3 separate regions of the Homo sapiens genome follow, and regions 1 and 3 are each linked to region 2. Evidence: promoter capture Hi-C in 16 types of primary human blood cells and fetal thymus (Javierre and others, 2016). All regions are on one chromosome and are shown on one strand. The core of a region is centred on a gene start or on the middle of the fragment in contact, and the rest is flanking DNA. Distances in the headings are between cores, read along the strand shown.

Region 1 (2,700 bases), core at 154-2,653, 1.6 Mb before region 2:
CTGGAGTGCAGTGGCATGATCTTGGCTCACTGCAAACTCTGCCTCCTAGGTTCAAGTGATTCTCCTGCCTCAGCCTCCCAAGTAGCTGGGATTCAGGCATGTGGCACCATGCCCAGCTAATTTTTGTATTTTTAGTAGAGATTGGATTTCACCATGTTGGCCAGGCTGGTCTCGAACTCCTGACCTCAAGTGATCCACCCACCTTGGCTTCCCAAAGTGCTGGGATTATAGGCGTGAGCCAAAATGTCGGGCTTTAACTGCTTAGATTTTAAACAATTGTCCTAAAGAATCCCTGGACAAAGGAACAATGACAAAAATCACAAAATGTATTTCAGGAAAAAGTATTGGAAAAGAGAACATGCCCTATGAACCTTAGCAACAAACAGAAGCAGCAGACACACTGATATCTACTATACGTCCATGTTACAAAAGGAGTATCCACATCCAAGTTCGAACATCAGTTAAAGAGGTGGTTTTAGTGGAAATACTGTCATTTTGAATGTTTAAAAAGGGTAGTCATAGGAGAAGTTGTCGGACATATTTTAAGGAGAAATAACTTTTTCAGGTCATACTCAGAGGTGTTTAGAAGAGCTCAAATCTAGAAACATGAGAATTGTTTGAGAAGGAGAACCTAGAAGACTTGAGGTCACCTTGAAAATGTGGGTGAGATGACAGCTTGCAATAAAATACAAGATTCCAGAATTCTTGGTATGACAGGAAAATAGTTAATGTGCAACCCTGTCATATCTTGATGCATCTGCTGATGGCTATTTTTTCAAAACCTCTAGAGCATGACCACTAAATAGCATAACGTTCACATTTTTGTCCTCTCTCTCATTTTCTTCTTTTTAACGAACGGTTGGGAAAAAAACAAAAAACAAAAAACAAAAACCAGCAAACAAAAACCAAAAGAAAAAAAAAAACATCACCAATAAACAAAAGAAGCTTCACCATCATTTGGGCCAAAGAAAGGGGTGCTTCATTTTCCCCGGAAAGATATGCCCTTCCTTCATTTGCTAAAAGCTGTTGATGACCACTTCGAAAAGAAACTCCACTTTGACTCTGAATTGCAGCAGTCTCTTTTTTTTTGATCCAGCTGCCGTGGAAGTGCATTGTCGAGCTAGATAAAAGGTTGTTATTGGAACAAAAAAATTGTGTTTTTTCCTTCCTATGTAATATGTAATAAAACTATTCTATGAAGTCTCAATGAACTCTCTCAATTGAGAAAAATACAGACAATTTTCATTATAAGTGAATGTCTCCAATTCATTCCTTTTCTATGGAAGGAAGACATGCAACAGTAACTTACTGTAGGCCACATTTCATAAGATATAATCTATTCCATTATTCTTGTGTATGTTTCATATGAAAAATGTTATGAAGTTTTTTCCCCTCACAAAAATACATATTCCCTTATCTCATTAAGTCCCTATCTCACACAACACCATTCCTCTACTGTCGCCCAGACCCCCAGCTCCCCTGCTCCCCCGCTGGGGTCTCAGCCTGTATTGCTATTTCAGAAATATAAAAGAAATGCATGCATTTCATTCACGCACAGTCAGTCCATTATTCAATTTAAAATCTCTGGCAAATGTAGATGAAATTCTGAGAATGAAATGAACCTGGTTTTGGTTGACTGTGCCTGATGAGATTCAGCATTATCTCCAAAATGCTATGACTTACATTTTTTGTTGTATGTAGAACGTTCTATTTGTTTCTAGAAATTACAGTGTTTTTGCCTAGCAATGACCTTACGCTGGTCACAGGTACCCATGTGAAACCAGTTAGTCTAAGCAAGCATTATAACCCTGAACACTGGATTTATCAAACACATTTAACATAGTGTGTGCTTGAAGCTTTATGTTTGATTATAAAATTAATACATGCTTATTTTTGAAAATTCAAATACCGTAAAGCACGTTAACAAAAAAAGTAAAGTGTTCTACTTCCCCTCTCTTCTATAGTTAACCCGTTTCTGGATAGTCTCTGTGTTTAAAGGTTAGGCATGAACCTTCACACAGATGCTTACCCTCCCTCACTCCCCTACATAAATATTCATGTGTATTTTACATACTTTTTATTCTTTTTAAAACTATAAAATAATACTGTACATGCTGTTCTGCAGAAATCATTTTTGCTCAGCATATTATCAGTAAATCTCTGTGTTACTTCCTACAGATCTGTTACATTCTTTTGAATAGCTACATAACATTGCCTTTTGCTCTTAAAATCAAAGCTGCAATGAAGATCACTTTGCATAAAGATTTCACTATACTTGATTGCCGGGTCAAAGAAAGTTTATTTTTTATTTTGATAAAGTATGTATTTTGAGATTTTAATAAGATAAAATATTACTTTAAATGATTTTAATAGCCCTATTAAAAATTACACCAAATTTATATTCTCTGTTACGTACTCCAATAGCATTACTCTATGAGTAAAACACATTCTATTCTTTGTGACATGCTTAATATTCCTTTCTTAGAGTCATAGACAAAAGACAGGAACTGGCTAGAAGCATGATCTTATTTTAAAAATTAGACGTGAAGGCCAGGTGCAGTGACTAACGCCTGTAATCCTAGCACTTTGGGAGGCCGACGTGAGTGGATCACCTGAGGTCAGGAGTTCAAGATCAGCCTGTCCAACATGGCAAAACCCTGTCTCTACTAAAAATACAAAAATTTGCCAGGTGTGGTGGTG
Region 2 (2,700 bases), core at 22-2,521:
CAGGTGGTAAGACAGAGATCAAAACAACCCAGTGATTAGGTGGGTGTCTGGGGAAGTATCTGGGTAGACCCTGGAGGCATTTGCAGTGTCTGACTGGACAGACATGAACCATACATCTCCCCAAGTTAAAAATGTAGGTATTTTCTAAAAGGAAATGCCAGTTAGAAATGACTGAAAAAGCACAAACACATTTGGATGTCTTGGCTTCAATTTGAGATTTCTAACACACTCTGGTGGCTTTTAAGTGTTGGAAAATATGATAGTTTCAAAGCAGACAGAGTGATATTTTCCCTTTGTAAATATGCCGTCATATTCTCTGGCATTTTTATAGGTAATCCACTCTGCAAGTATTATAAGCCTTTGCATTTGCTGGGATGTTCCCATAACATGCTTCGCTTTTCTGGCATAAAAATAGCTCTTGTATGACTTTCAGAAACAGACTTTCAGTCCAAGACTTTCCTTACATTGGAGATGGCTAAGGGACAAAAGTGGAGACCTGTACTCCATGGGAATTATTCTTGTACTTTTCCACCCTGCCTGCTATCTTCCGCTTTAATAGGAATACTTAAAGTGCTCTTATTACAAATATCACTGTTCACTTAGATATGAAAAACAGTGTGCTTTGATAATGACTTTTCTTATACTCTTAGTAAAAGAGTGATAATATTTCTTCATCATCATAACAGCTAGTAATTATTAAGCACTTACTAGTCCAGGCGCTCTGCTAGAAGAGTTTACACTGTGTCATTTAATTCTCAAAGCAAACCATTGGGTTAGGTCTATTCTTACCCCCAATTTTTTAGGTGAGGAGTGAGCAGCTCTGCTCCATAAATGCTACGCTCTGATGCCTGCCCATTGATCTTGACTTAATTTTCATGCAAAACCTGTTAATGCTTTAAAAGGTAAATATACATTCCAGTAATTATAACAGTAAACACTTGCACTCAGATGAATTTTATCTTAAGTTTCCATTACACACAGAATAAGGCCATTGAATAGCGATTCCAATAGATGATTTACTGAGCTCATGAACAAGCCAACAGCAAGGAGTGATCTGTAAGTACTTACTTCAGAAAGTCCATTTATGGGGATTTCGAAGCCTGATACTTCAGAAAGAAAGAAGCAGATGAAAAAGCACGTGAGTCTTTTCATTTTGCTGGACAGTTTTGCCAAGCTCCCCAAAGCAGATGGTCTGGGGAGGATATCACTTCTTCCTACTGAACCAAGTTCAAAGGAACAGCAGAGGAGTACAGTTCGCTTTAAGAAAGAAGAAAAAAGAAGAAAAAACTCTCTAACTTTGTTCAAAATTGGGACAAATATTTGTTCTGGAGCTCAAACTTGAGCTGTGTGGGTGGATCGAACACCCAGAGGTTATTCAAACAGCAAAGTCAGAAGCAGTTGCTTACTGTGAGGACAAGTCAGGGGCAGATGGATGTGCTTGAATGTGCTTGTGTGCTTTTATTTTATTTTTATTTTTTATTTTTTGGCTTTTGCTGATTTCTATTGATCTTAAAATCAGAGAGACCTACAGATAATTGTCATCCTTTCTAAAGGACCAAGTGCAGAACTATTCCAAGAAACAAAATCCTTTGATCTAAATGAAAGCAGGAAAAATTTAGAAAAAGTGGGAGAAGACACAGAAGGGTTTTTCTGAGCAAAGAATTCATTGTGCATGTTTTCCCCTATCTCTTTGATGACTGTCTACCTGTTACCTATAAAGACCCAGGCAAGTGGCTGTGCAGGATACTAGGGCAGATCTTCAGTGAGAATGCTTCGTGAATGTCTTTGATTAAGGTAACAGTGTCTGTCCTGCTGCCCCTATCAGCCGGGCTCAGGTCAGTGGCAAATCAATACTCCCCAGTCTCAGAATTGGAGTGCAGTGGTGAGATCAAAGCTCATTGCAGCCTCAACTTCCCCCGGCTCAAGCAATCTGCCCACCTCAGCCTCCAGAGTAGCTGGACTACAGGTGTGCACTACACTGCCTGGCTATTTTTTGTAGAGATGGGATTTCATCATGTTGCTCATCCTGGTCTTGAACACCTGGGCTCAAGCTATCTGCTTGCCTCAGCCTCCGAAACTGCTGGGATTCCAGATGTGAGCCCCCATGCCTAGCCTCCATCCTGGTCAGATTCTATTTTTCTTGCAACAAACAGGAAATGTAACTTCTTGGATGCAACACTGAAATAGGAAGCTCCAGCTGTGGGCAGAATTACAATACAAGGGAGGTTGTCTTATCCTCAGGACCAAGCACCCCAGGCCAACTTCTGGGATCCTGGAGCTCCTTGCTACATTTAAAGCCCAATTCACAGGGCATGCAACAGAGAGTTTTCTGCATTTTCCTCCCTAGTTTCCCCTCAGTCTTCGAAATTGCACAGCCGTGTGTCTGCTGGAGAAACATAACTTCTGAAATAATGGAAGGGAGAAAACAGATTCTCCCCTCCCTTGCCTAGGTTGGACTAGTTGAGCGCCCACCTTGGCCAGTGAGTGCCTCAGTGGACCCCTCATGGAAAAATCCTGCCACAGCTTTGCATTCTTGACTGAGATACTGTTTCTGGAGAATTAAGACCCAATGGCAGCTGGGCGCGGTGGCTCACACTTGTAATCCCAGCACTTTGGGAGACTGAGGCGGGTGGATGACCTGAGGTCAGGAGTTTGAGACCAGCCTGGCCAACATAGTGCAACCCCGTCTCTACTAAAAAT
Region 3 (2,700 bases), core at 7-2,506, 1.6 Mb before region 2:
AAATAATCTACTGATGGGAATAGAGGCCCTGAAAATCATCCCACAGTGAGTCAATCCCAAGTTCAGCAGCAAATCCTCATTTTGACAGAATCAGGAAGATGTTGAAGTGAGTATATTTCTGGTCAATACAAGAACATTTTTTCTTGGTTTTAACCTCCTCCTGGCAGTTCTGTGCCTTCTCATTTACCCCACCAGAGTTGTTCTTGCTAGACTTTTACTCTGGTATCAGAGTCTATTTAGCCAAGAGACTCACTGGGTATTAGCTAATTGGCCCATGGAGGAGCTTCCATAGTTTCCCTGTCCCCACTCAACATCAACTGCAGAAATTGATTCATAGGGGCCGTGGTCCCCTATTTGTTAGCAATACATGGATGTTTATCTGTTGAAGAAGACATTGTGGTACATTGGAAAGGGATTGGAATAGGAGCAAATAAGCCCCAGCTCCAGTCAGCAGTTTTACTGTGCTATGTGGATAATCATTTTGCTTTGCCAAACTCACAGACATGTTATGTGACTAGAATATGATATCTTGTGTAAGAGTACTTTCAAAATTATACTTACGTGGAAATGAGAACTGATATTAATACGTAATATATCTGTGAAACATTTTATGAGATTTTTCATGTCATTTCTCTTTGAAACAGATGAGTATCATTAGAATTTTTTTGCAATTTCTGAAAGGCAGACCTCTCAAAAAAGTTACACTGATATTTATTCTCGAGTATCGTAGCTTTTTATCCATTTATCCTTTTCTTTTTGTAAGTGTCCCATGATTTGGGGAACTTATTGTAGCAGTCAATGTAATTTACAAATTTAAATTACACTATAGGAGTAACTTAACTTCTTGCCTTGGGCAGCAGTGAAAGATAACTACTTTGTTTCTATTTGCAATAATAACTATTGATTAGATAAATAAATACTTTAATATCTCGGCCAAATCACCAGTGACATTTATGCCAATCCCTCTAATACTAAATCCATAAAATTTGAAAATAGTCTGTTTAATATTAATTTTATAGCCATGAATAAAGTACTCCTTCAATTTCTATGCTTCATGTAGCTTGTGTCTTTAACATCCATGTTTCTTACTCTACAGAGGAGGATACTAAAATTCAGTAATTAAGCCATGCAGCAAGTAAGACGTGGAGCTAGGATAGATACCCAAGCCCATAATTTTTCCAATATCTTATGTTGCCACTTGATTAACAATGCTTCTTAGAAGCATACTAATGGCAATGTCTATGATGGCAGTGACTGTACCTAAAAAATAAGTGTTTTTCCTATCACACGTCATTATGATCAGGTCACATTATATAATAAACATCAGTCATGTAAGGTGATGGAGTTTCTACTCAGAATGTTATTTTGCCACTAGTTAGCGTGTGTCACTAGTTAGATAATGACAAAATAGGGTTCAAAATTTTAAGTAATTTATATGCAGATAGACCAAGGAGAAAAATGTATTAGCAGTAGATTAAGGTTCAGAAACCAATGTTTTCTAATCCCAGATACCCATATGTATGCCTTTGAAAAAGTTATCAGGCAGAATTGAGGTATGGAAAGTAGAAGGCAGTCTGGGACTGCTCAAGGCTCAGTACGGAGCAGTACATGGAGTATCACATCATAGAGATCATTGACCATATAAAACACATATTCTTTCCTCAAAAATTTTAAAAGACACACTCACCAACTTTCTTTTTTTTAAACTTGTATTTTAAGTTCAGGGGTACATGTGCAGATTTGTTACACAGGTAAACTTGTGTCATGGGGGTTTGCTGTACAGATTATTTCATCACCCAGGTATTAAGCCTAGAACCCATTCGTTATTTTTCCTGATCCTCTCCCTCCCTCCTCCCACCTCCACCCTCTGAGAGGCCCCAGTGTGTGACATTCCCCTCTGTGTGTCCATACGTTCTTATCATTTAGCTCCCAGGTATACATGAAAACATGTGGTATTTGGTTTTCTCTTCCTGTGTGAGTTGCTAAGGATGAAGGCCTCAGCTGCATCCATGTCTCTTCAAAGGACATGATCTCATTCTTTTTTATGGCTGCATAGTATCCCATAGTGTATATATACCACATTTTCTTTATCCAGTCTATCATTGATGGACATTTATGTTGATTCTGTGTTGTGAATAGTGCTGCAATTAATATATGTGTATGTGTGTCCTAATAATAGGACGATTTGTATTCCTTTGGGTGTATACCCAATAATGGGATTGCTGGGTCAAATGATATTTATTTCTTTAGGTCTTTGAGGAATCGCCACAATGTTTTCCAAAATGGTTAAACTCATTTTTACTCTCACCAACGGTGTATAAACATTCCTTTTTCTTCACAACCCCACCAGAATCTGTATTTTTTTGACTTGTTAATAGTAGCCATTATGACTGGTGTGAGATGGTATCTCCTTGTGGTTTTGATTTGCATTTCTCTAATGGTCAGTGATGTTGAGCTTTTTTCATATGATCCTTGGCCGCATGCATGTCTTCTTTTGAAACATACTAACCAACTTCCAACTCACTATATGAACCTTGAAATATTTTGCTCAACATGTTTGAGGTTCTCTGTTCTCCTTATAGTTTTTGAAGCACTTCTTTCCTTGTGAGAGACTTCCTCCTGCCACCACCAAATCTGTATCAAAGCCAGAAATCTCTATGGATCTGAGGGCCATTTTTTTCTTTTCAAAATATCAGTAGG

What was found. The method cuts DNA at HindIII sites, captures the fragments that hold promoters and counts their contacts. A CHiCAGO score of 5 or more calls a contact.
Region 1: a contact is called between a fragment that was not itself captured here and the fragment with the promoter of ITIH2 in region 2, in 1 of 17 cell types (endothelial precursors). The highest score is 10.4, in endothelial precursors.
Region 3: a fragment that was not itself captured here is called in contact with the fragment with the promoter of ITIH2 in region 2 in 1 of 17 cell types (M2 macrophages); the score reaches 7.0 in M2 macrophages.

Annotation. Positions count from the first base shown.
Region 1 is chr10:9,276,908-9,279,607 of GRCh38, reverse strand. All of the region lies in intron 1 of LINC00709 (long intergenic non-protein coding RNA 709), which reads right to left. All of the region lies in intron 3 of LOC101928272 (a long non-coding RNA gene), which reads left to right. Among named protein-coding and RNA genes, the nearest start is that of LINC00709, 2.6 kb to the right of the region's middle. The HindIII fragment of the contact is 911 bases long and covers 948-1,858 here.
Region 2 is chr10:7,701,887-7,704,586 of GRCh38, reverse strand. It overlaps ITIH2 (inter-alpha-trypsin inhibitor heavy chain 2), which reads right to left and starts at 1,271. Exons shown (of 21, transcript NM_002216.3): 1 at 1,069-1,271. The coding sequence starts at 1,152. The HindIII fragment of the contact is 18,944 bases long and covers 1-2,700 here.
Region 3 is chr10:9,305,800-9,308,499 of GRCh38, reverse strand. No RefSeq gene overlaps it. Among named protein-coding and RNA genes, the nearest start is that of LINC00709, 32 kb to the right of the region's middle. The HindIII fragment of the contact is 7,013 bases long and covers 1-2,700 here.